Regions from separate parts of the Homo sapiens genome. Here all the other regions are linked to region 4. Evidence: promoter capture Hi-C in human tissues and cell types (Jung and others, 2019). All regions are on one chromosome and are shown on one strand. The core of a region is centred on a gene start or on the middle of the fragment in contact, and the rest is flanking DNA. Distances in the headings are between cores, read along the strand shown. Region 1 overlaps LOC105370467 (a long non-coding RNA gene). Region 2 has its middle 590 kb from the start of LRFN5. Region 3 has its middle 580 kb from the start of LRFN5. Region 4 holds the start of LRFN5 (leucine rich repeat and fibronectin type III domain containing 5). Region 5 has its middle 620 kb from the start of LRFN5.

What was found. Contacts are between HindIII fragments. The study calls those that stand out against the background at their distance.
Region 1: a contact is called between a fragment that was not itself captured here and the fragment with the promoter of LRFN5 in region 4, in 2 of the 25 tissues and cell types used here (mesendoderm cells and thymus).
Region 2: a fragment that was not itself captured here is called in contact with the fragment with the promoter of LRFN5 in region 4 in 1 of the 25 tissues and cell types used here (bladder).
Region 3: a contact is called between a fragment that was not itself captured here and the fragment with the promoter of LRFN5 in region 4, in 1 of the 25 tissues and cell types used here (dorsolateral prefrontal cortex).
Region 5: a fragment that was not itself captured here is called in contact with the fragment with the promoter of LRFN5 in region 4 in 1 of the 25 tissues and cell types used here (dorsolateral prefrontal cortex).

Annotation. Positions count from the first base shown.
Region 1 is chr14:40,866,174-40,871,205 of GRCh38, reverse strand. The region is part of intron 7 of LOC105370467 (a long non-coding RNA gene); the gene reads right to left. Among named protein-coding and RNA genes, the nearest start is that of LINC02315, 86 kb to the left of the region's middle. The HindIII fragment of the contact is 4,394 bases long and covers 1-3,561 here.
Region 2 is chr14:42,197,980-42,202,900 of GRCh38, reverse strand. No RefSeq gene overlaps it. Among named protein-coding and RNA genes, the nearest start is that of LRFN5, 590 kb to the right of the region's middle. The HindIII fragment of the contact is 5,425 bases long and covers 1-4,921 here.
Region 3 is chr14:42,179,693-42,185,228 of GRCh38, reverse strand. No RefSeq gene overlaps it. Among named protein-coding and RNA genes, the nearest start is that of LRFN5, 580 kb to the right of the region's middle. The HindIII fragment of the contact is 5,830 bases long and covers 287-5,536 here.
Region 4 is chr14:41,603,291-41,608,297 of GRCh38, reverse strand. It overlaps LRFN5 (leucine rich repeat and fibronectin type III domain containing 5), which reads right to left and starts at 1,422. Exons shown (of 6, transcript NM_152447.5): 1 at 1-1,422. The HindIII fragment of the contact is 3,229 bases long and covers 41-3,269 here.
Region 5 is chr14:42,225,472-42,230,909 of GRCh38, reverse strand. No RefSeq gene overlaps it. Among named protein-coding and RNA genes, the nearest start is that of LRFN5, 620 kb to the right of the region's middle. The HindIII fragment of the contact is 8,023 bases long and covers 1-5,438 here.

The DNA.
Region 1 (5,032 bases), core at 115-2,614, 740 kb after region 4:
TCTTAAAATGTGATATCTTTATTCAAAGTTTCTATAAAAAACATATATTATAAAAAGAAAAGAAATTTTATAAAATACACTCCAGTGTGGTATATTTATTTATTAACCATTTTCATTTCTTTAATTGTACCCTACTCAAAAGTTACACATGCAAAACTGAAAAAGAAATGTAATGATTCCCATTATTATGACATATTTTCATCTTATTTTAGTGTGAAAAGTAATTTCTCAAGACCTGCCTTATCTGACAAGCACTGAATCATCTCTCTTTCAATCTTTCTTTTAAAGGAAGAGATAAGTAAGGGGAAGTAAAACCTAATACCAGTTTGGCCTTTCATTTATATAAATTGTTATTATTTTGCTATTATTATTATATTTCACATTTCATATTTATGTTCTAGAGTAATTTATGTAAATTAGTAGACATATACATTATTTTTTGCTTAAAATATTTGAAACAATTTCAAGGCACATTATATGAGATGTCTTCTTCATTTGCCAACACAGACATCTGGAAATAAGTCTATGCCCAGAGTTTCTTTATTCTTGTTTTAGCTCTCAACAATGTAGCTGAGATTAAAGGTTATTAGCATACTGAAAACTATGTAATTGAAGGAATATTATCTTGCCTTTACTTTGACTGTGAGAGAAGAAGAGTATAGCTGCTAGAATAAATATGAAAGTCAGAGCCTTGATAAGGTCTAGTAACCCAATCATTGGCATTCACTATGGAAAAGGATGATGTGCTTTATTTCCCTCTAGTGGTTTAGTAAATGAATAAATAGAAGAAAAAAAAAGTGAAATGGCTTCGATGTACTAGCTTAAAAGCCATTCATAATTTTGAGATGCCTGATGTAGGCTACTTCTAAAATTACACTATAAAATTTGCAAACAGAAAATAAAGATGTGCTTATAATCAAACAAGCATGATGCATCAGAAAAATAAATTGGTAGAAAATCTGCAATCAGCACCAAATTAAATTATTTTTCTGTATTCAGGAAGTCAGTGTTCATGAGGCAGAAACAAAGAGATGAAGTGATGCTTTGCATCTTTCAAAGTTAATACACAAAAGCTATAGAACAAAGATTAAGAAAAAGAGAATTTAAAGTCTTTTATTTGCTTTTGAGAAAGCTTATTTAGTTGCAGGAATTTGATATTTACTTTTGTTAATAACCATTTTTGGTAAGACCAAGTTTAAAATAATTTGTATCACCTGAACATGTGGTCCTGGGCAGAAAATCATGAAAAAAGCTATAAAATTTCTAAATGACATATAAAGTGCTAAGTAGTTGGATGAAATTTTTAATTTAATTCCCAGACCAACATCATAAGATATGTATCATTATTACTATCACCATGGCCCAGATGTTTACTGAAGGAGACAGGTAAAATGTTTCTAAGGTAACAATAATTAGAATTAGACTGAAACGCGGGTAGTCTGACTCCAGAACTTAAATTGTTAGGAAGTCAGAACATGTCCTTGGCATGATTTTAAATATTTATCATGCGTAAAGGATACTTAAATAAGCCAGAGTTATTTTTAGGACAAGGTTCTGCCAGAAAGTGTTATTGAATTAGGGTTGTATAGTACATAGACCCTTGAATAATGCAGGGGTGAAAAGCACCAACTCCCCTCACCATGTAGTCAAAACTCCACATATAATACATGATTCCCCCAAATTTTAACTACTAAAAGCTAACTGTTAACCAGACACCTTATTGATAACATAAAGTCAATTAATACATATTTTGTATTTTATATGTATTATGTACTGTATTCTTACAAAAAAGTGAGCTAGAGAAAATAAAATGTTATTAAAAAAATAAGGAAGATAAAATAAACTCATTATTCACTAGTGAAAATAGATCATCATTTGCATCACCTGTAAGATTTCATTCTCATCATCTTCATGTTGAGTAGGCTGAGGACGAAGAGGAAGGGTCTTATTGTCCTATTGTCTCAGAGGTTGCAGAGGCAAATTAAATAGAGAAAGTAAAAGGGAAGGTAGGAGAAATTGACTGAAAAAAATCTGCAGGTAAGTGGACCCTTGCAGTTCAAACCCTTATTGTTCAGTCAAGTGTATTTTATTCAACTAGTTAATTAGATGAAAAGATACACAATTGAGAGAAGAAAAACATACTTAGTGATTTTTTTATTAAAAGAGAATTATTTAATAATATATATTTTCTAAGAAATTTAATAATATCAGTGACACCATTTGTAAAATTATTTTTACATGTCAGACTATTGTTATATATTATTTGATATGTTTTTCTGAAAAAAGGTGACAAAATTACTTAAAGTGAAAAAGCAATTATTTTCAGAAGTTATTTTCAGTTATTTTCAGAATTACTTTATTCAGTTATTTTCAGAATTACTTTAAGAAGTTGAATTAAATACAAAAAAACAAAAGACATAAATATTTCAATTTTTAAATACTTCTTAGCATATGACAACTTATAAAATCAACTGGAAGAAACATATAATACAATTATTATTTGAAATTATTTTTGAGAATTTTTTTCTACCAATTGGTAAAATATGAATCAATAGTTTCAATTTTAATAGCTACATTATCTTTAGGAAAGGATTTGCTATTATTTAGAGATATATTCAATTTTTTAGAAACCATAAAACTAATGTTAGGAATAATAATTTTGTCCAGAAAGGGTGTGAAGATATAGTCATATTCTGTGGTTTAATCATATCTTTGGAGAAAGTTTCAGAAGCTATATTCCCAAAAATATTTTAAGCAATTGAAGCATCATCGAATAAGTTTGCCACATATGTAAAAAATAACATTATACAAAGTAAACCCTTTGCAAATGATGGCTAATGTAATCTGCTTTACATGATTTGTAATTTCAAAGAACCCTTAGCTAAATAGATTAAAACATTTCTGTAACTTTATAATCACTTCTCTGCACACTGGAAACCACTTATGACCCTAGAAATTCTAAAAAATGAAATTTAATAGAAGATAAACTTGTTTTGGCTGCTATCCACAAATATTTAGTTGCTTAAATGGAAACAGTAAAAGGCAAAACAAAAATAAACCAAGCAAAAATGCTTCACCTTGTCACAAGTTTTATATTTTCAATTTAGAAAGTTAATTGCATCATTAATATTGACTTGTACTGTCATCATACATTATCCTATTAGTTTTAATTGGAAGATGACAGGAATGTTGAAGAGTATTATGTTAACCTTGCTTTCAAATCATTGCTTACATTCACAACTTGCTTTTTTTTTAAAATAATATTGAGGAAAACATAGAAATGATAAGCTATTCTCAGAAAAAATTGTGTTTGTGACATAAAAATAGGCTTTACATGTGACAGGGATTGCCTTTGTATTGATATAATTTTTCACATTTTTTATTGACACACTATCTTTCTTTAAGAAGCATATATTTTTATAGAGTAGACTAGAATTCAATTGCTTCATGTGAATAGTTCAGCCAAAAGGTAACCTTAAACCAACAATTTGGCTGAATACACTTTTGTTTTCGAATTAAAAAAAAAATCCTTAGAAGAGATAGACACTACTTTCTACGTCTGCTTTTGAGAAGTGTCTGTTGATGTCCTTTGCCCAGTTTTAATGGGCTTGTTTTTTACTTGTTGATTTAAGTTCCGTAAAGATTCCGGATGTTAGATCTGTGTCACATACAGTTTGTGAATAACTTCCCCTATTCTGTAGATTGTCTGTTTGCTCTGTTGATTATTACTTTTGCTTTGCAGGAGCTGTTTAGTTTAATTAAGTCCCACTTTTCTATTTGTGTTGTCATTGCTTTTAGGGACTTGGCCAAAATTTTTTTGCCAAGGCCAGTGTCGATAAGGTATTTCCTAAGTTGTCTTTCAGGACTCTTATAGTTTGAGGTCTTAAATTTAAATCATTAGTTCACAATGATATGATCTGGCTCTGTGTCCCCAACCGAATCTCATCTTGAATTGTAATCTGAAATGTAATCCCCAAGTATTGGGAAAGGGACCTCAGGGGAGGTTATTAGATCATGGGTGTGGTTCCCTCATGTTGTTCTCATGATAGTGACTGAGTTCTCACGAGATCTGATGAAAAGGGGCTTTTCCCTGCTTTGCTTGGCAATTCTCCTTCCCACCTTCATGTGAAGAAGGATGTGTTTGCTTCTCCTTCTGCCATGATTGTCTAAGTTTCGTGAGGCTTCCCCATCCATGAAGAACTCTGAGTCAATTAAACTTATTTATATATATATATATATATATAAAACATATATATTATATATAGAGAGAATATATATTATATATGCACATATATATAAATTACACACACAGATATTAATTCATAGCAGCATGAGAATGGACTAATGCTTTGGCCTTTTGGCAGGGTAAATGTGTACTGAGGTTAGGGGAATGATAAGACCTTTTGGAAACCACTAGACACGGGCTCTGAGCTGACATTGATTCTAAGGAACCCAAAACATCATTATGGTCCTGCAGTTAAAGTAGCGGCTTATGGAGGTTAGGCAATTAATGGAGTTTGATCTCAGGTCTGATTTACATTGGCTCCAGTGTGTTCCCAGACTCATCCTGTGGTCATTTGCCACAGAATGCATAGTTGGTATAGACATACTTAGCAGCTGGCAGAATCCCCACATTGGCTCCCTAACTGGTAGGGTGAGGGCTATTATGATGGGAAAGACCAAATGGAAGCCGATAGAGCTGCCTCTACCTAGAAAAATAGTAAATAATAAACAATATTGCATCCCTGGATGGATGACAGAGATTAGTGCCACCATCAAGGGCTTGAAAGATGCAGAGGTGATGATTCCCAACATCCCTATTCAACTCTCCTCTTTGGTCTGTGCAAAAGAGAGATGAATCTTGGAGAATGACAGTGGATTATCATAAACTTAACCATGTGGTGACTCCAATTGCAGCTGCATTACCAGATGTGGTTTCATTGATTGAACAAATTAGCACATCTCCTGGTACCTGATATACAGCCACTGGTTTGACAAATGCCTTTTTCTACATTCCTGTCCATAAGGCTCA
Region 2 (4,921 bases), core at 1,174-3,673, 590 kb before region 4:
GTGAACCACCCTCCTCCGCCTCCCAAGGTGCTAGGATTACAAGCATGAGCCACCTCACTCAGCCTTATATTTGCATTTCTAAAGGGCTAAGTAGGAAAGGTGGAGCAAGGGAGAAGGGGAAAGAAGAAAAGAAGAGAAAACAATAAAAAATAAACTATTTCAGAAAAATTGGGGTCCTCAGTTACATTATCAATTTATATTTTTCACTCCTTTTTAAAGTGTATATGTTTTGTGCCCAGTGATGTCTTTTAAATTTGTGTTTTTAAACTGTAACATATAATTTGGCATGCTGCAATTTTTGTATCTTTAATAATAAATTGAATAGAAGTTTCTTAATATGTCATTGAAATTGAGACAAGAAATAGTATCAACAGGTTTGTGAAAATGTTTTAAAAATAGAACTTAAATTTTACAAGATTATTATTTTGTAAATTGTGAGGACTGCTTTTTAAAATATGGCACTTTTTAAAGAGTAATAATACAACTCATCTTTGAAGTGAAAGATTTCTAGAATAACTGGAGAACCATCTTTGCTTCTAGCCAGAATTAGTGTTTCCCTCCTCTTTGCTCCCATTATTCATTCTGCACAGCTTTGCCACACAGTTACTGTTACTGGCAGTAAATCCACATGGGTCTGCAACAACTTCCATTCTTGCCTCTTCAGAAGAAAGAATTTGACCAGGGGGCGTAAAGCAGAAGAAGAGAACCAGGCAAGTTTTAGAACAGGAGTGAAAGCTTATTAGAAGGCTTTAGAGCGGGAATGAAAGTAAAGTACAATTGGAAGAGGGCTGACGGGCTGACGGGTGGCTTGAGACATCAAGTGTGCAGTTTCATTTTTTGACTTGGGGTTTATATGTTGGCACACTTCTGGGGTCTTGCATCCCTTCTCCCCGATTTTTCCCTTGGGGTGGGCTGTCCACATGCACAGTGGCCTGCTAGCACTTGGAAAGTGAGCCTGCACGGCCTGTTCACTGGAGTTGTATGCATGCTCACTTGTGGCGTTCTTCCCTTAGCAGTCGAATGTCCCTGGAAAGTCATATACCAGTTAAACTCTGCCATTTTGCTTCTTAATGCGCATGCTTGAGCCCACTTGCCCAGCTCTTGAGATCTTATTGGGAAGCCCCTGATCACCAGTTTCAGGTATTTCTATCTATTGGGGGACCGCCTTTCTCTGCACCAGCTGTGACCAATTATTATTTTAGAGAGGCAGTGTAACAACTGCTAGACCACTGCCTGATAGTCACCTGACATTTCTGGTGGGGTAGGGTGGGGGTAGCCCTTTCCTGCCCTGCTCATGCCTGACTAGCTACCTACTCAAATACCATTTTAAAAGTACTGTTTTCAGTGTGTCCATGCTATCATACTGTGGGTAATCTGAGGAGTAATGTCTTATTCATTTACATTAGACAATATTTAACATTCTACTTGGAGTGTTACATATATTCAATACATGTCTGTGGAATTAACTCTATGATTTACATTTATGAAATTAAAACATTGAAAATTTACCACTGCATTGTTTTAACCTTTTTTTTCCCTATGGTCATTATTAATATCATTAACCAAAGGTTTTGAGGAATATGGTAGATTTATACTTGCTGTCTTTCTGGTGATAGAATTGAACTTTTTAACTCATATAAGCCAATAAGGAGACATGACATATATCTATGCTGAGTATTTAATTATCAACATGAGATCATCCAGAGTTCTCACTTCTCTTTGTCAGGACAATCAGCAAAGCTGTATATGGTCGTGCTCTGTCAGCCTGGGGCATTGAGGGCTTGAAATAAATAGAGCTCCCCTAGTGACACTGTGTGTGACACTGTAATATAAAAGATAAATACATCTTTTTGTGTAACACTATTGGGATGTTTAGATTTTTTTCCCCGACTTTAATTTAGCCTATCTTATCTAACTATTAAAAAGTTCCACCATGTAAAACAGAATTAAAAAAAAAAAGATTTGTAAAGATGGCTTAAGTTAACGTTGTTCAAAAGAAGAATGGAAAGGAAGGTAGAGACCAAACTTGGATTTAAGAAAGAGACTACAAATCCGAGGGACTTTAATTCCTGCACTATGTACGCCATAAGTTTACTTCACACTGAGAAGCAAGTAGGCTTTCTTAATCTTTCTTAGAATGAAACTTTAAAGAGTAGTCCAACTAGATGAAATATAAATATACATTAAAATATAATCATGTATTTTCTAATATATAAATCATAGTCAATATTATTTTAATATCAATTAAAAATTGATACATATGTGTGCATATTAGAAGATTGTATTTAAAAATGAAAATAAGTGTGTTAAGGTGAATTTCTTAAAGAGTATTTTAAAACTAATATTCTAGAGCCTCCCTATTTGTTATCCTAAGGTTTGTAAAATGCCTTTCCGATCTTAAGAACTTTAAAATTATATAATACATTGAATCTGTGGAAAGAACAAATTTAAAAACAAGCAAGGTCCTATTCTTCAAACACCACTAAGAGTTTTAACTACCTAAAAATCACATAAACAATTATTGAGACCCATAAAAATTCATAGTTGATCCAATGACCAAATGTCTTAGTGTATCTCACATTCAACAAAGGAGAAAAAGATTAGCAAAACACCTGCCAAATTGCATTTCATCTGTAAAACTTTTATTAGTTTAAAGGTAGTTTATATCATTCATATTTCTTTTCTGGCATTTGAAATTCAGTTCTTCAATTTAGGCTTAACATAATATCTGTAGCTATATAAAAGAGATGTAGAGTCAAAAAATCACATAAGAAATTATTTTGGTATAAGGTGTGAGAAATCTCTATTAAAGAATAATAATTAGATGTGTTTAGGCAACCAAATTTTTTTGCTTATAAACCTACTAATAAGTATATAATGAAACATTCCCAATTTCTCTTGCCATGAAAAAATGCATCTCAAATTATTGGCTTAATCATAATCATTTATTTTGTTCATAATTCTGTAGGCTGATGGGGCACAGCTAGGCAATTCTCACTCTGGTTGGCTCATGAAGGTGGCTGGAGTTGAGACCATCTTGAAACTTTGCTACTTATATTTCTAATATATCGCCTGGGAAAATCAAACAGCCGAGGACAAGTACTACTACGGCTCCTCTATTACCTTTCTATCTCTGTGTGGTCTCACCCTGTGGTCTCTCCATAGAGCCTCCAGGTAGCTGGATATCCTACACTGGGGCCCTAGGCTCCCAGATCAAGTATTCTAAGAGAGACCAGCAAAAGTTGCCTAACTGGCTTTTTCTTTTTTTTCCTTTTTTTTTTTTTTTTTTTTTGGAGACAGAGTCTTGCTCTGTTGCCCAGACTGGAGTGCAATGGTGCAATGGCAGGATCTTGGCTCACTGCAGTCTTAGCCTCCTGGGTTCAAGCGATTCTCCTGTCTCAGCTTCCCGAGTAGCTGGGATTACAGGTGTGCGCCACTACACCCATATAATTTTATTTTGTATTTTTAGTAAAGACAGGGTTTCACCATGTTGGCCATGAAATCCAGACCCCAGCGATCCAACCGCCTAGGCCTCCCAAAGTGTTGGGGTTACAGGCATGAATCACTGTGCCTGGCCCTAAATGGCCTTTTCTAACCTATTCTTAGAAATCACAAAGCTTCACTTCCACTGTATTCTATTTGCTGAAGCTGTCAAAAAAGCTCACCCAGGTTGAAGCCAAGGGTCACTGTTTCTACCTTTTGATGTAAGGGGTGCCAAAGAATTCGTAGACATGTTTTTAAACTATCACTGAGATACAAATCAGCATTACAGGATTAGACATCCAGTACAATAAAAATGTAAACTTAGAAGATCTGCAATCCAAAGCCTTTTAAATCTGTTTCATCTGAAATCAGTCATCGCACAGCATTGTTTAGTACACTGAGGCAGGACTACTAGAGTGAATTTCTCATGGTTGAACCCCTCATCATAGAGTAATTTTACTGAGCAAGCAACTTTCTATCACCTGATGTTTCCTCTGCTTCTTCAGCAGCTGAGGCATCAATTGTCTTGAATTTCGCTCCCATTCAAAGCAATAATGTGTTATTGACGGTGAGACATGCATGCCTGGCATTTAGAAATCCTGCAAGGCAGCTGTTTTGTTTCTTGAAACCATTAAGTTGATTACAGAAGATGATTAAATATGATATTTGTTTGAGACCAAATATCACCAGACTTGGCAGGCTGTACAATTAGAGTTTTGAAAAAAAAAAAAAAGTGGTTAAAAGAATATCATCTTTTGTTGAACGGCACAGTGATATACAAAGTAAAGTTTTTACAATTCAACCAACGTCTGAGCAAAACAACTGTCAGAGGCATGTGAACCACAGCAACTCCATCTTAAATAGGAGTTGGGTAAAATGAGGCTGAAACCTACTGGGCTGCATTCTGAGATGGTTAAGGCATTCTAAGTCACAGGATGAAATAGGAGGTCAGCACAAAATACAGGTCGTGAAGACCTTGCTGATAAAACAGGTTGCAGTGAAGGAGGCAGCCAAAAACCACCAAAACCAAAATGACCACAAGAGTGACCTCTGGTCGTCCTCACTGCTACAGTCCCACCAGTACCATAACAGATTACAAATGACATGGCAATGTCAAGTAGTTTCCCTATACTGTCTAAAAAGGGGAGACATGAATAATTCACCCCTTGTTTAGCATATCATCAAGAAATAACCATAAAAATTAGCAACCAGCACCCTGCCCTTGGGAGTAGCCATTACTTTATTCCTTTACTTTCTTAATAAACTTGCTTTCACTTAGCACTGCGGACTAGCTCTGAATTCTTTCTTGCATGAGATCCAAGAACTCTCGGGATGTGGATTGGGACCCCTTTCCTGTAACACAACTATTGATTATTTTTTAGAAGCTGGCTGCCATTTAAATGGGGCAATTAGTTAAAGACTGAGAATAGGCAAAATC
Region 3 (5,536 bases), core at 1,952-4,451, 580 kb before region 4:
TGGAGATTAACATATTTCTTTTTTTTTTACAGCTTTCCTTTCCTTTTTGTCATATGCAGAAAATGAAGGATCAAGTAGTTGGAAATAGAAAAACATCAAGGATAAGTCTTGGCTCTTGATTCTTAGTGAAATAAAAGAACTCCATTAGCTAGTGGGTCTACATCTACAAGTGGGGCTTATTCCCCTACAGAATCCACAGGCAAATAAATGTTGGCAGTGATACTGGAAGGTGATTGATAGACTATTCTATAAACAGGGATAGAAGCTAAACATTACATTCCCAGAACTGTGGTTACAATTATTGTTCCCTAGTCATAAATGAGTTGTTGGATTTTTAGAGAAGAGAGCTATAAAATGAACAGAAAGCAGGTCAAATTGTAAAGTCATATAAATCAGGGTGAAGGGCAGGAATGAAATCCAAAATAATTAAAGAAGCCAAGAGTTAATCTGTAATTCAAACAGCTTGAAGAACAGCTCTGGACATAAGATTTTCCAAATTTCTACAAAAATATGTATGAAGATATTATATATGTATATATTTAAATGACACAAAAATCTAAACCTTTTACCTACAATCAACCAATGCCTGAACTGGAGCAGAGTTTATAAAAATAGGAGGTTTTATATCAATGCTTCATTTTTTCACAAGAAGGTAAAATTATAAATAGTTTTTCAATTTCCCAACCACAAACACTGTTAATCATTGTGATGAGGAATCAATAAGAAAATCAGTAGTTGAACCTATGGTATATGCATTTAGTATACTGTGAGGTTATATGCATGCTCTTCCCATCCAGTATTTCCTGACTTCCTCCAAAAATCCCATTTTCAAATGGTCATAAATCTTCAGAAATGAAAACTCCGTGGAAAAAAATGAACAGTTAACAGAGGTAGTTAACTGCTTTCTGTGAGGAAAATCATTGGGTGTAAACATACAGAAAAACTTCTACATCAATTCATGCTAAGAGTGTTAGATTTCATTCATATCATTGGAAATTTGAACTAGAGCTGTGCATATGAATTTATACTTCAAATACACCAAAACAGTAGGATACACGTAAACACACAATCTCACCCATCTATAGAGAGCATAGCAGGGCTGATTTCTTCTCATTGAAGAATGAATAAAGAAACAAAAAAAAAATGCTGTATTAAAAACATCTCCAACCAAAGGAGGGGAAAAAATAAGTGTCATAAGAAAGAGATATGCACAGATTACTTTCAAGAGGCCAAGTTTGTTGTAAATCTATAAGGATTGCAAAGTACAAAGAGAATTTCATCAAATAAACACACATTCCCCTTGAGCTTAATTCTTCCCAACTCAGTGGTGCATATCAAGCTTCACAGGCAACCAATCAAGTTACTCGGTATAATTTTGACAGCATACAGAGGTGTACATAAGAAGCGTGGCTATGTTAGTCTCCCCTTGTCTGTGGTGTTACTTTTTGTAGTTTCAGTTACCTATAGTCAATCATGGCACTGAGATAGATGAGTATAGTACAATAAGATATTTTGAGAGACCACATTCACATAACTTTTATTACGGTATATGTTATAGTTCTATTTTATTATTAGTTATTGGTGTTAATCTATTACTGTGACTAATTTATAAATTAAACTTTATCATAGGTATGTATGTATGGGAACAAAGGTACTATATACAGGGTTCAGTACTATTCTAGGCTTCAGGCATCTGCTGGGGGTCTTGGAATGTATGTCCCATGGATGAGGGAAAGCTACTATATTCTGTTTCATGTTTATATTTCACAGAAAAGATGCAATTGAAATGGCTTGTTTCTACTCATAAAGAACTATCTATATTGATCAAAATTTGAAGCAGTTGTCAAGATTACTAAGATAGAATTTTTTTTCTGAGTACCCACATTGCTGAATGCTTTAACTCTTAAACAGCACCTACTGTTTAATCCACTTTTCTCATGGAGAGAGGAAGAGAAAATCCGCACGCAAACATATGTTCTCTTTTCCAAAATAACTTGGTATAAACTCCAGCCCCATTTGCTGATGAGTCAGTTGTATCCCAGGGACTTTAAGGACTCCTTTTGCCTAGCCGGATTTTGGCCAAATATCTGAAGTACTTCATAGACTAAGAAACTGACTTACCTGCTTATATTAAACCAATATCAAAGTCATGGTTCTATCTAGAGTATTATTTTTATAACAAAGGAGAGCAAATCCAAATGAAAGAAGGGCTGGCATTTCTGTTCCAGGTATCCTTTATCTAGTTTTCTTTTTCCTTGACTGAAGCAAAGAAAGAGGGAGGATGGGATGCGAGTGCAATAGAGAGTATCTTCTTGTGAGCAGAAGACCTGTCTTCTCCCACTGCCACATCTACACTTGGTCATTATCATGTCATTCTCAGTCTAATCCCCTAACTAAAAATATAAGAGAAAATTTAACTTCTTGTTTATACTTATTCATTGACTTTACTAAATATTTCAGATTGAGTAAGGTTGAGAAAGCACAGCAATCTTGAACTAGAACGGGTAACAAACACGTCTGACTCTACTTGGGTTTTGCTGTACTATTAACATTTGCAGAGTAGAGAGTGAGACCTGGGGGCTCAACAAAATATTAGAAATATCTTTACTGAACCTTCCTAAGGCCACTTACTCTGAGCCTTTGTATCTAGTTAAAGCTAACAAAGTGGATGGTGCAACCCCTCAAGATATTTGACAATATATTAATGTTTTTTCTCAGATACCTCTGAACTATATTAGAGGAGAATATTTTTATTCATTTAGTTTACCTCAAGGCCACACTGTACATTCAGCTAATTTATATGTCCAATTTTCCTGGACAATTATATCAAATGTTCATGTATTTTTCATGCCCAATTTTATCAACCAGGTATTACAGAAAAATCACAAGATAAGGTAATGCAGTGAGCACCAGATAGCCATATGACTAAAACACACATTATCTACTGATATATAATCTATACCTACCTACATATTTTCTACTGATCTATCAAGAAATGTCTCAAGTATACCAAGATTTATTAAAAACTTGTAGAAAACAATTTTACCCTCTGATTCTCCTGTAAATCTATTTTTGGTGATGTTCTCTGAATAAAATAACAAAATTTCTAGAATTTATAGCTTTAAGACAGAAAATACTATGAATATTCTAACTCATACATTTCACTGCCTACTTGACATCATTCTTTTTTTTTTTTTTTTTTTTTTTTTTGAGACGGAGTCTCGCTCTGTCGCCCAGGCTGGAGTGCAGTGGCGGGATCTCGGCTCACTGCAAGCTCCGCCTCCCGGGTTCACGCCATTCTCCCGCCTCAGCCTCCCAAGTAGCTGGGACTACAGGCGCCCGCCACTACGCCCGGCTAATTTTTTGTATTTTTAGTAGAGACGGGGTTTCACCGTTTTAGCTGGGATGGTCTCGATCTCCTGACCTCGTGATCCGCCCGCCTCGGCCTCCCAAAGTGCTGGGATTACAGGCGTGAGCCACCGCGCCCGGCCGACATCATTCTTGAAATGCCTAATAGACATCTCAAATGTAATGTGCCAGTGGTAATTAATCTCCAAGAATGCCCCCCCTCGAAAATCACATCCTTTATTATTATGCCTTTTGGAGATCCTTCTCACACTGAATTTGGACTTGCTTAATTCAACACATGCAGTGGAAGGAAACTGTGCCAGTTATAGTCCTAAGCCTTAACAAGGCCTGGTAATTTACATGTTTATTTTTCTGGGGCTCTAAGCCATCATACAAGTGGTCTAGTTACTGTGCTGGAGAGGCTGACTAAACTACATGAAAAAGCTATACAAAGAGAGAGAAACTCAGCAGCCCCAGCAGTGTAGCCCTCTAGCCATTCCTACCAAGACACCAGACATCTGTGTAAAGCTATCTTGGAAATTTCAGCCCCAGCCATCAACCACCAATATCCTTTTAATAGACTCCAAGCAAGACAGTGCAAAATCCATGCAGCTGAATGTCAGTCAGTCCTTGGAATTATACAAATAATCAAATGACTAATGTTTTAACTGCAAATTAATAACCTCAGCTGGAGAATGTGTGTAAGCTACATTTTTATTTGGATGCTTAGGAGACATCTTAACATGACATGCTCAAGACTGAACCTTTCCACGCAAACTTGCACCACACTCCAGTTTTCTCATCTCAGTTGATGGCAACTCTATTCTTTCTGTTGCCTAGACATCCAAATTAGTAATTATCCTTTCCTTTTAATTTCTTTCATACTCCATACCTGCTATTTCAAGTTATTCCTCTGTACTTTCCAAATGTATCCAAATTCCAACCTGGCCTAAGCAATCCTAGTATCTAGATTAGGTTACCATAATAGCCATTTAAGGAATCTCTACTTTACCTTTGCCCTCTGTAGTTTATTCACAGCACACAGTAGCTGGGGTGACCCTCTAAAAAATAAATCATATAATGTATCTCCTCTGCTCAAAACCCAAACGGCTCCTCTTTTAAAAAACCAGAGTGTGTATAATGGCTGACAATGCCCTCATATAACCTCTCTCCCTGCCTCCAACCTTTCTGATTGCATTTCTTCACTTATTTTCTCTTGATCACTCCACTTTTGTCCTACTGAATCCCTGAAGTTCTTCAAACTTGTCGTCACGTTTGCAACCTAGGGACTTTTCAGTAGCTCTTATCTCTTCCTGGAATGCACTTCTCTTAGATATTGACAACATTAATTAATTCTAATTCTTCAAGTAATTGTTCAACTGTTCCTTTATCTATGAGGTCCACTTAAACCCTACTTAAAATCAAAACTCTTTTTCCTAACATTACAGATTCCTTTTTACACTACTACTTTTATTGTTTTTCTTCTTTTCCTCACAGCATTTAGCCAATAAACTGTGTAATTTACTTTCTTATAATGGTTGTGATTTTTGTGTCTCCCTTGCTAGAATATGAGCTACCAAAGTGCAAAAATTGTTGTATACTTGCTCAATGATATATTCGGAACTATTTTTTATAAAAATTATTTTAAATTGACAAATCAAAATTACACATTTTTATGGGGTACTGTGTGCTGTCTAGCTATATGCATAGAATGTGGAATAATTGAATTAAGCTAACGAATATGTCTACCGACTCATCTTTTGTCATGAGACATTTGAAATATACTCTTTCAGCAACTTTGAAACACACATTCACTATAACCACCCTGCTATGCAGTAGATCTCAAAAATTTATTCCTCCTTTCTAACTGAAACTTGGAATCCTTTGACCAACATTGCCCCATTCCCTTTACTCATTTCCATCAGTCTCAGGTAACTACCATTCTCTTTTCTACTTCTATGAGTCTGACTTTTTTAGATTCCACATATAAGTTAAATCCTGTGGTATTTGTTTTATTATGCCTGGCTTATTTCACTTAGTATGTCCTCTAAGTTCAGCCATGTTGTTGCAAATCACAAAATTTCCCTCTCTTTAAATCTGAATGGAATTCCATAGGGTTTATATACCATGTTTTCTTTATCCATTTATCCTTTGATGGACACTTAGGTTGATTCTATATTTTGGCTAT
Region 4 (5,007 bases), core at 173-2,672:
AGAGGCAGGGCGGCCGCGCACGCACACACAGACACACGCTCACACTCACACACACTCGCACCCGGGCGCGCGCGCACTTGCACTCACACTCGCACACGCACACCCAGCACTGCACGGGGAGGAAGCAGCACGGAGGGAACCGGTCCTTCTCACGATTGGCTTCGAAGCCCACCGGACCGCGGGCAGCAAAGAGAGCGTTCTCGCATAGCCCTTTAATCACGTTTCCTTCAAGTTCTCCTCCAACCCGAATCCACGTAATTCAAGAGCTGGTGACATTTTGGTGGGGAGGAGGGAGCCGAGAAAGGGCTGAGGAAGAGTCGGGGATTTTGTTAAGCAGTTTAATAAGCAATCCTCATTACCTTATTTGTTTTGTTTTGTTTTGTATAGCAAACCAGTTCGAAGGGCTGAACTTTTGGCTTCAAATGCTGTGAACCAAAACGTAAATATCCTTCTGGCCAAGAGAAGAAGGTGTAGATACACGGAAACAAGAGGGCTGCAAGACACTCTCTTGACCTTGTGATGTACCTGGAAGCAGGTTAATATTGGCGCTTTCCAAGCTTCTGGGTAAAGCGATCCACACACCTGGGTCCACAGCCCAGCAGCCGCTCCAAATCCAGCCAGGAAAATGGGTCTGGGCGTCCTCAGAGCTCTGCAAGAACCCGGGCATGAAGGGGCATCGCCGAGTTAACACATTTGCTTCTGGGCAGTTGGATAAAAGACAGTCAAATGCATCAGATAGGCGCGCGCGTACACACGCGCGCGCACACACACACGCAGCTAGCTGGAAAGCGGCTTACAAAACACTAGAGACATGCCAAGATGACTTGAAAAGGTAGCCAACATCCAGGATCTTTCCGGAACACAGAAGGGCCAGCAGGGAGGTTATCAAAGTCTTCTCAAGTCTTTCAATTCTTCCTCTCTCCTCTGAGTGTGTGTGTGTCTGTCTAGGTTTCGTTGGTCTGCCCCACCCCCGTCCAGTTGCGCTTTTTTTTTCTGATATAACGGACCGTGCAAAATGGATTATATGGGTGGGCTGTGTTCACAGCCAGAGCTCCCCAAAGTCAAGGATCCTAAGGGAGCAGCCAGCTGCTAAACAATTCACATCCTCAAGGGAAGAAGGAAAAACACGCTCAAACACACGCAAACACGCGCACACACATACATAGTCCTCCGTTCGGGCAGCTCTGCACACGCTCACCGCCTCCCTGCGCGCCGCGGAACACAGCGCCCCGCCCGCTGGCCACCGCGCTGGGGCGAGTCCGCAGTTCAGGCGCGAGGCAAGCAGCCGAGGTCCGGGGCTGCGGCCGCGGCCGGGGCGGACCCGGGAGCTGGGCTTCCCAAAGCGTCGCGTGTGGGCAACGGCGGCCTCCTGGCCGCGTGGAACTGAGCCCTGCGCTGCAGCATGAAGGCGGCGGCGGCGGCGGCGGCGGGCGCGCGGCCGTGAGCTCAGCCCGCGCTGCAGTGACGGGAGCGGCCGTGTCGGCCAGACCCCGAGAGTCCGTGAGACCCCGGCCGGGGCCGCTCCGCTGCTGTCAGCCCTCGGGCCTCCCAGCCAGACTGGTTCTGAACCGATTTATCAGGGGGTTGCGGAGAGGGCCGGCGAAGCGCCAGGAAATCCCCAGGCTGAGGAGGCGCGGGGGCGTTGCAGGAAGGGGGAAGGGAAAAGGCAGAAAACCTGGAGAATGAAAGCGAACTTCCAGGGGCGTCCCCAGCCTCCTGCAAAAGGGCAATTTGCTGATCGCCCACTTCCTCGCAGTTACGGGATAGAGAGAATCATCACTGAGTCAAGCTTCGGCTGCTTAGGGCGGTGGGAAAAGTCATTATCTATAATAACCCGCCGGAAATTTTGAGGAGAGCTACTGACTTGGGGGTTTCAGTCATCTGAGGCTGGCTTCCGCTGTCCCCTTAGTTGTGGGTGGTGATTTGCTTACTAATCAGATGGGAGCGGATTCTGAAAAGAACATTTATATTTGGGAATCAACTCAGCTCAGCATCAGACATTACGAATACTGCAGTTGGTCACATTTTACTATGTGAAGGGCAGAAAGGGAGCCCAACAGTCTTCATAAGCCAGACCTAGTCTCTAAGGTCACCGGCACAGACGCAGGGTCTAAAGCAGGAAAGAGGTGCGACTGGAAAGGAGGTTAGACAGGGCCCTGCGGGAATGGATCTGCCCGGAGCCCTCGCCTGGTTTTGCTTGAGACTCCGACAAGACTCCCAATGCTTCTCTCCCCGACCCTATCCCCACTCCCTCCATCCTGGAAAAGCCAGTGAGCAAAGTTAACTCTTTCTTCTAAGAAACCCTGAGTGAAATCTTGCTCTTCCTTTCTGCTAGAGTCCTGAAACCCTTTCGCTTCTCATTGTGGGTTCACCAGCACGTGGTCTTCGGACACTGAGAGCACCTTCGCTCTCAGCTGTGATCCTAGCTAGCCCAGACACCAGTCTGTACCCAAAGGAAGAGTAGGAAGTTGCAAAGGGAAGCTGGCTAACAAGGGCTTCTTCTGCCCTACTTGGCAAAGGCCCATACGGGTGGCCTCCGTGGATATGGAGCTCCTTCATTTTGTTCCAAAAAGAGCTCTGCCAGGCTTTACCATTGCCCTGGAGGTGCACAGGCGCCCGTATACTCGAGCACAACCATGGGCTCACCCCAAGCGCGCACACCTGCACCCACGCGTAAGGAAGAACCACACAGCTATCTCTGTCGGGGAAGAACACGAGGAGTGAAGTGCTTTAGGTGGAAACTCCTCACATCTCCTTTCTTTCCTCTGCTCCCCCTCTCTGCCCCTGGTACTCCGGATCCAATCCTTGGCTTAGGAATCCACTCAAGCCACGTCTGGCTGCTTTGTTCCAGAGGAGCGCAGCTCCGAGACTGCACTTCAGCGGTGCAGCCTCCCTCCAGGTCGGCGAGCGGCGCCAGATCCGGGACTTCAGGGTCTCCGCGGGAGCTTAGGAGGCTCAGGATCTGAGTTGGAGAGCTGGAAGGCCAAACTCCGAGCCGCTGAGGGACTGCGCAGGAAGACCACAGAAATAAACCAAAGGGACACCGCGGACAGATGTACCAGAGGACACCACTGAAGTCCAGGAGAATCTCCACCAAAACCATCAGCGTTTTCCTTGTAGCTTTCTGTCCCTCGAAGTGGAAAGTTGAGGTTTCTGAGAAGTCCACGGAGAGAACCTGCAGCAAACTGAAGCCACAGACTCCGAAGGCATAGGGAGAAAAAATGCTTCCATCCCCCTTTCACTTTAAACTTGATCGCTTCTGGGACTTCACTGGAGGGCGGTGGAGTTGCACCAACCTGGAGTACAGGCAGATCCCAGCGAGCACTTCCAAGTACTTTAGGACGTGGGGGTGACTCTTTTTTCTTCAGGATTGTCCCACTTGCCACCCTTTCCAGCTGAGCTGATAGGAACCAATGAAAGTCTAGGCGATGAGGATTTTCCGTTACCTCAGGGATCAAAGTATAAAATGTTGAATGAGAAACCCGAAGACCTTGCATCGCTGGGCTGAATAACTTGTTTTCTTTTTTATGGTGTCCAGACTGAGGTAGGGAGGGGACACACTGACCTAGCTGTAAGAAGTCAAGGGTTGGGACAAAACAAAGTTCAAATATATACTGGAATTTGTGTGTGTGTGTGTTTCAGAAACTGTGTGTGTGTGTGTGTGTGTGTGTGTGTGTGTGTGTTTTCAGCTTGAGAAAGATGAAATCACGTTTCCTTAATGCTGGGAGTAATAATGCTTAATGCTTAACTTTTCATTGTTCTTTCATGTTTCAAGCCCTACCAGGCCCAGGAAAACACTTCTTTCCGTTTCCTGTAGCCTTCCTGCGTATCATGCATTATATTTGAAAGTGCTTTCCTCTACTTTCCTCATTTTATCTCAATAATCTCTGCTAAAACCAGATAACTTTCACCCTCCCGGTTCAGCATTTGCTCTTTTCCCTCCTACACAAGCTGATTAGAATTTGCAAAGAGAGAGGAAGAAGAAAGGTTCTATTTTGTTTCATGATTGTTGCTAGAAAACGGCAAGACCTCGGGAGAGAGACCAGCATATTATTTCCCAGTGGATGTCAGAGCTAGCAAAGTTTTTTTTTTTTCTTTAAATTTTATTCCCTAGCAGGTCAAAAACTAGTATGTTTGCAAGAACAATTTCTAGTTTGCTCATAAAACTATTGTTATTAGCCACTCTAAGGTTGGCATACTTTTAAAAGTTCAAACAAGTTCCTTCTAGAATAGGGTTCTTTTAAACATTAACATTTAAAAAGAAGTAATTTTTTTCATAAATAATTTAGATTTAACTCTTTACCTCTATAGTATATCTGCCTTACTTCGTTAATGTGTCCCCTGATTTACTGCCTATGTCAAAGCACTTTTAAAATAATGTCAATTTTCTTGTTCTCCCAGTTCATTTTTCTGAGGACCAATGGTGATAAGTGTTGGTCTGCCTATCTTCCCAGAATAATCCAAGATTTGGGGAAAGAAAGAGTATTTTGCTAATTTCAGGTAATTAATGGAGATATGAATGTTTTTCAGTTAAAGTGATGAATATCAAAAGATTACCTGAGTTTCTGTTTATATTGTTATTTAATATTTGAGTTTCTCTTTAAGGTAGTAAAAAAGTTATGATCTAGTTTTTTTTAATGGCGTTAACAATTAGTTTGCACATCTTATGCATTTTATTTACATGGATTAAAGTATGTGGTAAGTTATCACTTTAATTCATAAATTTGTTTTATATGTAACTGAAGAAGCTTATTGTAAATTGGAAATACCTTACCTTCAAATTTCCTGGGTGAGAAATCACTATTGAGTTATTTCTACTTTGATTATTTTTACTAATATAATGTAATATAAGTTATCTGACAGTTCAAGACTGGAAATTGGTATGAAGAAACAAGGAAATACAAGTTTCTGAAATGAAGGGATATCATTCAAAACAAATCTGAGTTAAACAGAAGAAATGAAATCCAAACATTGACATTTTTTTAATCTACATAGTTTTGAAATATA
Region 5 (5,438 bases), core at 1,996-4,495, 620 kb before region 4:
ACCTAAATTGACATGTATTAACTGCTTAATACACTTGCTAGATATTTGACATTGAGTCTTATTCAATGGATGAATATAACTCTCAAAGAAAGACCTTAAAATAAAACTTTTCCTCTAGAAATATTTTTGATATGCTGCACTAGAATCATATTTTTCTTGTCTTCTGGGGATACTCCGTTTCCAATGAGGCTAACTGGATTTTAGAGAGCAGCAGGTTGCCCTCCATCTTGGGTGAAGTATGATGAGCATGTTATAGTGGGATACTATGTACCAGAAATAACTGAAAACCACACTGACAAGATGATCCTACAGAGGACAAAATATATTAATAATGATACTAAAACAACTGCAAATGCACTTTAAAATGAAACAGCATAACACTCTTGGACTAGCCGACAGGATAAAATAATAATTTAGTAAGCTATTTTTTACCTATTTTACCTCACCCCTAAAAACACATGAAGCTATGTTGAAAACTACATTACAAGTTATTGCCGCACTGACACTCAATAACTTGTAAAATGCCAGCAATGCACCTACTATAAACACATTGAAAAAGCATCGTAGTACATTATTGCCTCCAGGAGTGGAGACCATGTTTATGGAACTCGGAAGTTATGACCCCATCTGTTATGTATGTCCAACAGCTTATCCTCTTGTAAAAAAGGCTGCCATGCAACTCCACATATATCAAGTAGGGATAGTAGAACTTGGGATGGGGGATAAAATAACACTTGCTTCTTGGTTCATTTCTCTTACTTACTCACAAATGTGGTTAATATACCGCAGTTAAAATAATACCTCATGTGAAATATTAACCATTCTTCTTCCCCTTAAAAGGGCTCTCCTAAGCCATGTTCAAATGTAGTATTAAAAATTCACTACAATTTAAAGCAACAGCAAATGAATCACATGAAAAAAGAGGAAAAATTTCCTTTTATGAATTTAAAATTTTGTTCTAATTTCTGCTTCCTAGCTTTTCTATGATAGAAACAACTCTGCTGTACATGAATTACAACCTGTTCTTTAATTTAAGGTTTTACTATTCAAATCTATTCACAGACAGGCTAGCGTAGCTTGGGGTGTAATGAGAATACAGAATGTCGGGGAGAAGAGCCAAGATGGCTGACTAGAAGCAACTAGTGCACATCGCTCTCATGGAGAGGAGACTGAGGGGCAAGTAAATACTAGCTCAAGTGAACCATTCAAGAAGCAAGAGTGACCCACTGAGAGTAGAGTAGAGATGGCGGGGGCAGGATCGCTGCCCATGGGAGATTGACATAGAGCAAGGGGTGGTTCCCTACCATGGGGAAAGAGTGAGTGAACGAGAGCCCCTGGGACCCACACTTCTGCCATGGACCTTAGCAACCAGATCCCTCTGACACCCCTACTGCCATCACCCCACCATCCCACCCCACCCTCCAGACTGATGTGGAGAACAGCCTGGAGAGTCCAGGCAGAACCGTTGCTCAAGCCCATGTGGAGCCCCACGGGCCTTGGATCCCTGAGCACCCCAGCTCCAGCTGCCATAGCTCTACCAACAAGCGAGGCCAGTCTCTCTCACATGCCCCTAGGATAAGGGCCACATGCATGGTGCTGAGGAGCTGACAGGCTGGAGGCCCCACTTCCCCTGCTCCTTACAGGCAAGGCCCACTGGCTTGGGCCCCCAGAACAGCCACCCACCCCTGTCTAAGCACTCTGGTGGTCATGCCCTGTATTTCTCTGGGACAGACCTCCCACAGGTAACTCACAGGCTTCCTATGACTGCTGCTGCTGTGGTGTCCACCCCTGCTGCCCTCACCCAGGCTAGGTAACAAAGAGTCAGAGAACCGTCACGGGCCTCCAAAACCCTGCAGCTATAGTATGAAAAGGTGGGCAGACTGTTTTCCACATGGATCCCTTCCCCTGCTGTGCCTCACAGGGCAGGGCCTCCCAGCTGGGGTCTCCAGTGCGGTCGACCCACCCCCACCTGATCACTTCAATTGGTGACAGCTCTGCGTTTCTCTGGGGTGGAGCTCCCAGAGACAATCTACAGGCCCTCTGCCATTGTCACCTCTGTGGTATCCACCCTTGCTCACCCCAGGCTAGGCAGGGAACAAAGAGACTGATTGCTTTCATCCACCTGCAACACACTGAAACTGTCCTACAGAGAGAAGGCCAGTCTTCCTCTCCAGCCCTCACCTCGCCTGCTTTTAACCAGACAGGGTATCCTGGTTTGGGCTCACAGCGCAGCTGCCTTAACCGTGGCTTATCACTCTGACCAGCCACGGCTCTGCATTTCTCTGGAGAAGAGTTTCCAAGAAACAACCAAGAGGCCCTCTGTCATTGCCACTAGGAAGGGGCAAAGAACCAGACTGCTTTGCTCATACCTCCAGCACACTTCAGCCACCTTGACCAGATAGATTCAAAGTTGAATTCTACCAGAATCTAATCTAATAGCACATCAAAAAGCTTATCCAACACCATCAAGCAGGCTTTATTTCTGGAATGAGAGGCTAGTTCGACATGCGCACACCAACAAATGTGACTCACCATATAAACAGAATCAAAACCAAAAACTGTATGATCATCTAAATAGACATAGAAAAAGTCTTCTATAAAATCCAATATACCTTCATGGTTTTTTTTTAAAACAAACAAACAAAAAAACAACAAAAACAAAAACAAAAAACACAAAGAACCCCAACAACCCTCAATAGGCACTGAGGGAAAATACTTGAAAATAATAAGAACAATCTTAGACAAACCAATAGCTAATGTCACACTTCATGGGCAAAAGCTAAAACCATTGCCCTTGAGAACTAGAACAAAACAAGGATGCTCACTCTCACCATTCCTATTCAACATAGTACCAGAAGTCCCAGCCAGAGCAATCAATCAAGAGAAATAAATAAAAATCATACAAATAGGAAAATAAGAAGTCAAACCATCTCTCTTCACTGATGAGTCTGTACCTAGAAAACTCTATAAAGACTCCACCAAAAGGCTACTGGAACCAAAAAATGAATTCAGGAAAGTTTCAGGATACAAAATCAACATACAAAAATCAGTAGCATTTTTATACACCAACAATGTCGAGGCTGAAAGTTAAATAAAAAACACAATCTCATTACAATCACCACAAACAAATTTAACATTATTCCTTCAAATTACCAAAATCATTCTTCACAGAATTAGAAAAAGCTACTCTAAAATTCATAGGGGACCAAAAATGAGGTCAAATAGCCCAAGCAACTGTAAACAAGAAGAACAAAGCCAGAGGCATCAAACTACCCAATTTCAAACTATATGTTCAAACTAATATAGCTTTAATATAAGGCTGTATTAACCAAAACAGCATGGTACTGGTATAAAAACAGACACACAGACCAGCAAAACAGAATAAAAATCTCAAAAATAAAGCCACACATTTAAAACCATCTGATCAACTACAAGGCTGAGAAAAACAAGCAACGGGGAAAGGACTCTCTTTCCCAGGGGTGTTGGGATAATGGCCTAGCCATATGCAGAAGAATGAAACTGGACCCCTACCATTCACCATATGCAAAAATCCTACCTAGGAAATACCATTCTGGACATTAACCTTGGGAAAGAATTTTTGGCTAAGTCCCCAGAAACAATTGCAACAAAATCAAAAATTGACAATTGAAACCTAACTAAAGGGCTTCTGCACAGCAAAAGAAACTGAGAGTGAACAGACAACTTACAGAATAGGACAAAATACTCACCACATATGCATCTGACAAAGATCTAATAGGCAGAATCTGTAAGCAACTTAAGTGAACAAGCAAAAAACAAATAACCTCACTTAAAAAATGGGCAAAGGACATGAACAGACACTTCTTAAAAGAAGACCTACAAGTGGTCAACAAACATGAAAAAAATGCTCATCATCAATAATCAGCAGAGAAATGCAAATCAAAAGCACAATGAGATACTATCTCACACCAGTCAAAATGGCTATTATTAAAAAGTTAAAAAACAACAAATGCTGGTGAGGCTGCAGAGGAAAAGGAAAACTTACACATGGTTTGTGGGAGTATAAATTAGTTTAGCCACTGTGGAAAGCAGTTAGGAGGTTTCTCAAAAAAATTAAAACAGAGCCACCAATTTGACCCAAAGGAACATAGATCATTATACCCAAAAGGCACATGAACTCATATGCTTCTTACTGTGCTATTCACAATAGCAAAGACATGGAATCAACCTAGATGCCTAGTAATGGTCTGTTGGATAAAGAAAATGTGATATTTATACACAATGGAATACTATTCAGTCATAAAAAAGAATGAAATCGTATCCTTTGCAGCAACATGGATGGAGCTGAAGGCCATAATTTTAAGTGAACACAGGAACATAAAACTAAATATTGCATGTTCTCACTTATAAGTGGGAGCTAAAGATTGAGCACATATGAACATAAACCTGGAAACAACAGACACTATGGACCACCAGTGGCAGGAGGGATGATGTGGGGCATGGGCTGAAAAGCTACCTATTGAGTACTATTCTTACTACCTGGGTGCAGTATACCTATGTAACAAACCTACACCTGTGGCCCTTATATCTAAAATAAAAGTTGAAATTCAAAACTAATAGTACATAATAAGTTTAGGGCTCAATGAAGTGGATTAGTTAACTCTAAAATTTGGGGGGAAGTTTTAATGTGCTATAATTTATTCTCTTTTATCTTATCATGAGATTCCCATGAAGCTACCTGGAAACCTTGTAGGAATTTTGGGATTACTCTATTTTCTCCAAAAGGATTCTAGTCTTCTCAATTAACTTCAGCTCCATATTGACTCTCAGTGCCATAGTTTTAGCTGAGATCATGTGCCCAAAACCACACTGCCAGGTTAGTCTGCTTTATAGTAGTTTCCTGCCATAGCAATCTGCACCATGCTCATTTTTACTGTAGCAACCTACGGAATGCTAAACAAAGTTGCTACTAGAAAACAAAACAAAACCAAACAAAACAACAAGAAGAAAATTTATATGAAATGCATTTTGTTTTGCTCCTTCTGCCCATAATTTATCCTTTAAGAATTGAAACCTATGTGTGCTTGATTAAAAGAATGGATCTGAGATTAATGTCATACCTCGTGAACCCCCTTTCCATAATCATAGCTTATTGTCTCAAATGTGACCATCTGGCCCATGGAAAATTATTTAATTGCCAGTCAACAAACAATATAGTTACTTCATTTGGGATGTTGAACTGGATAGCACAAGCATACTGATTTAGTAAATTGTAAATAAGTTCTGATTAGTGACAAAATACCACAGTGAAGGTCTAAGAATTTCTTAGGCTGAACCCCTCACAGTTGCCCTGGATCATACATTTCCTGAGGCTTGCTGTGTGTGTTTCTTTACAATATATTTTTTTTCTTCTTTGAGCCATTTGTCACCAGTGTGCTAAAATCAAATGCATTATAATA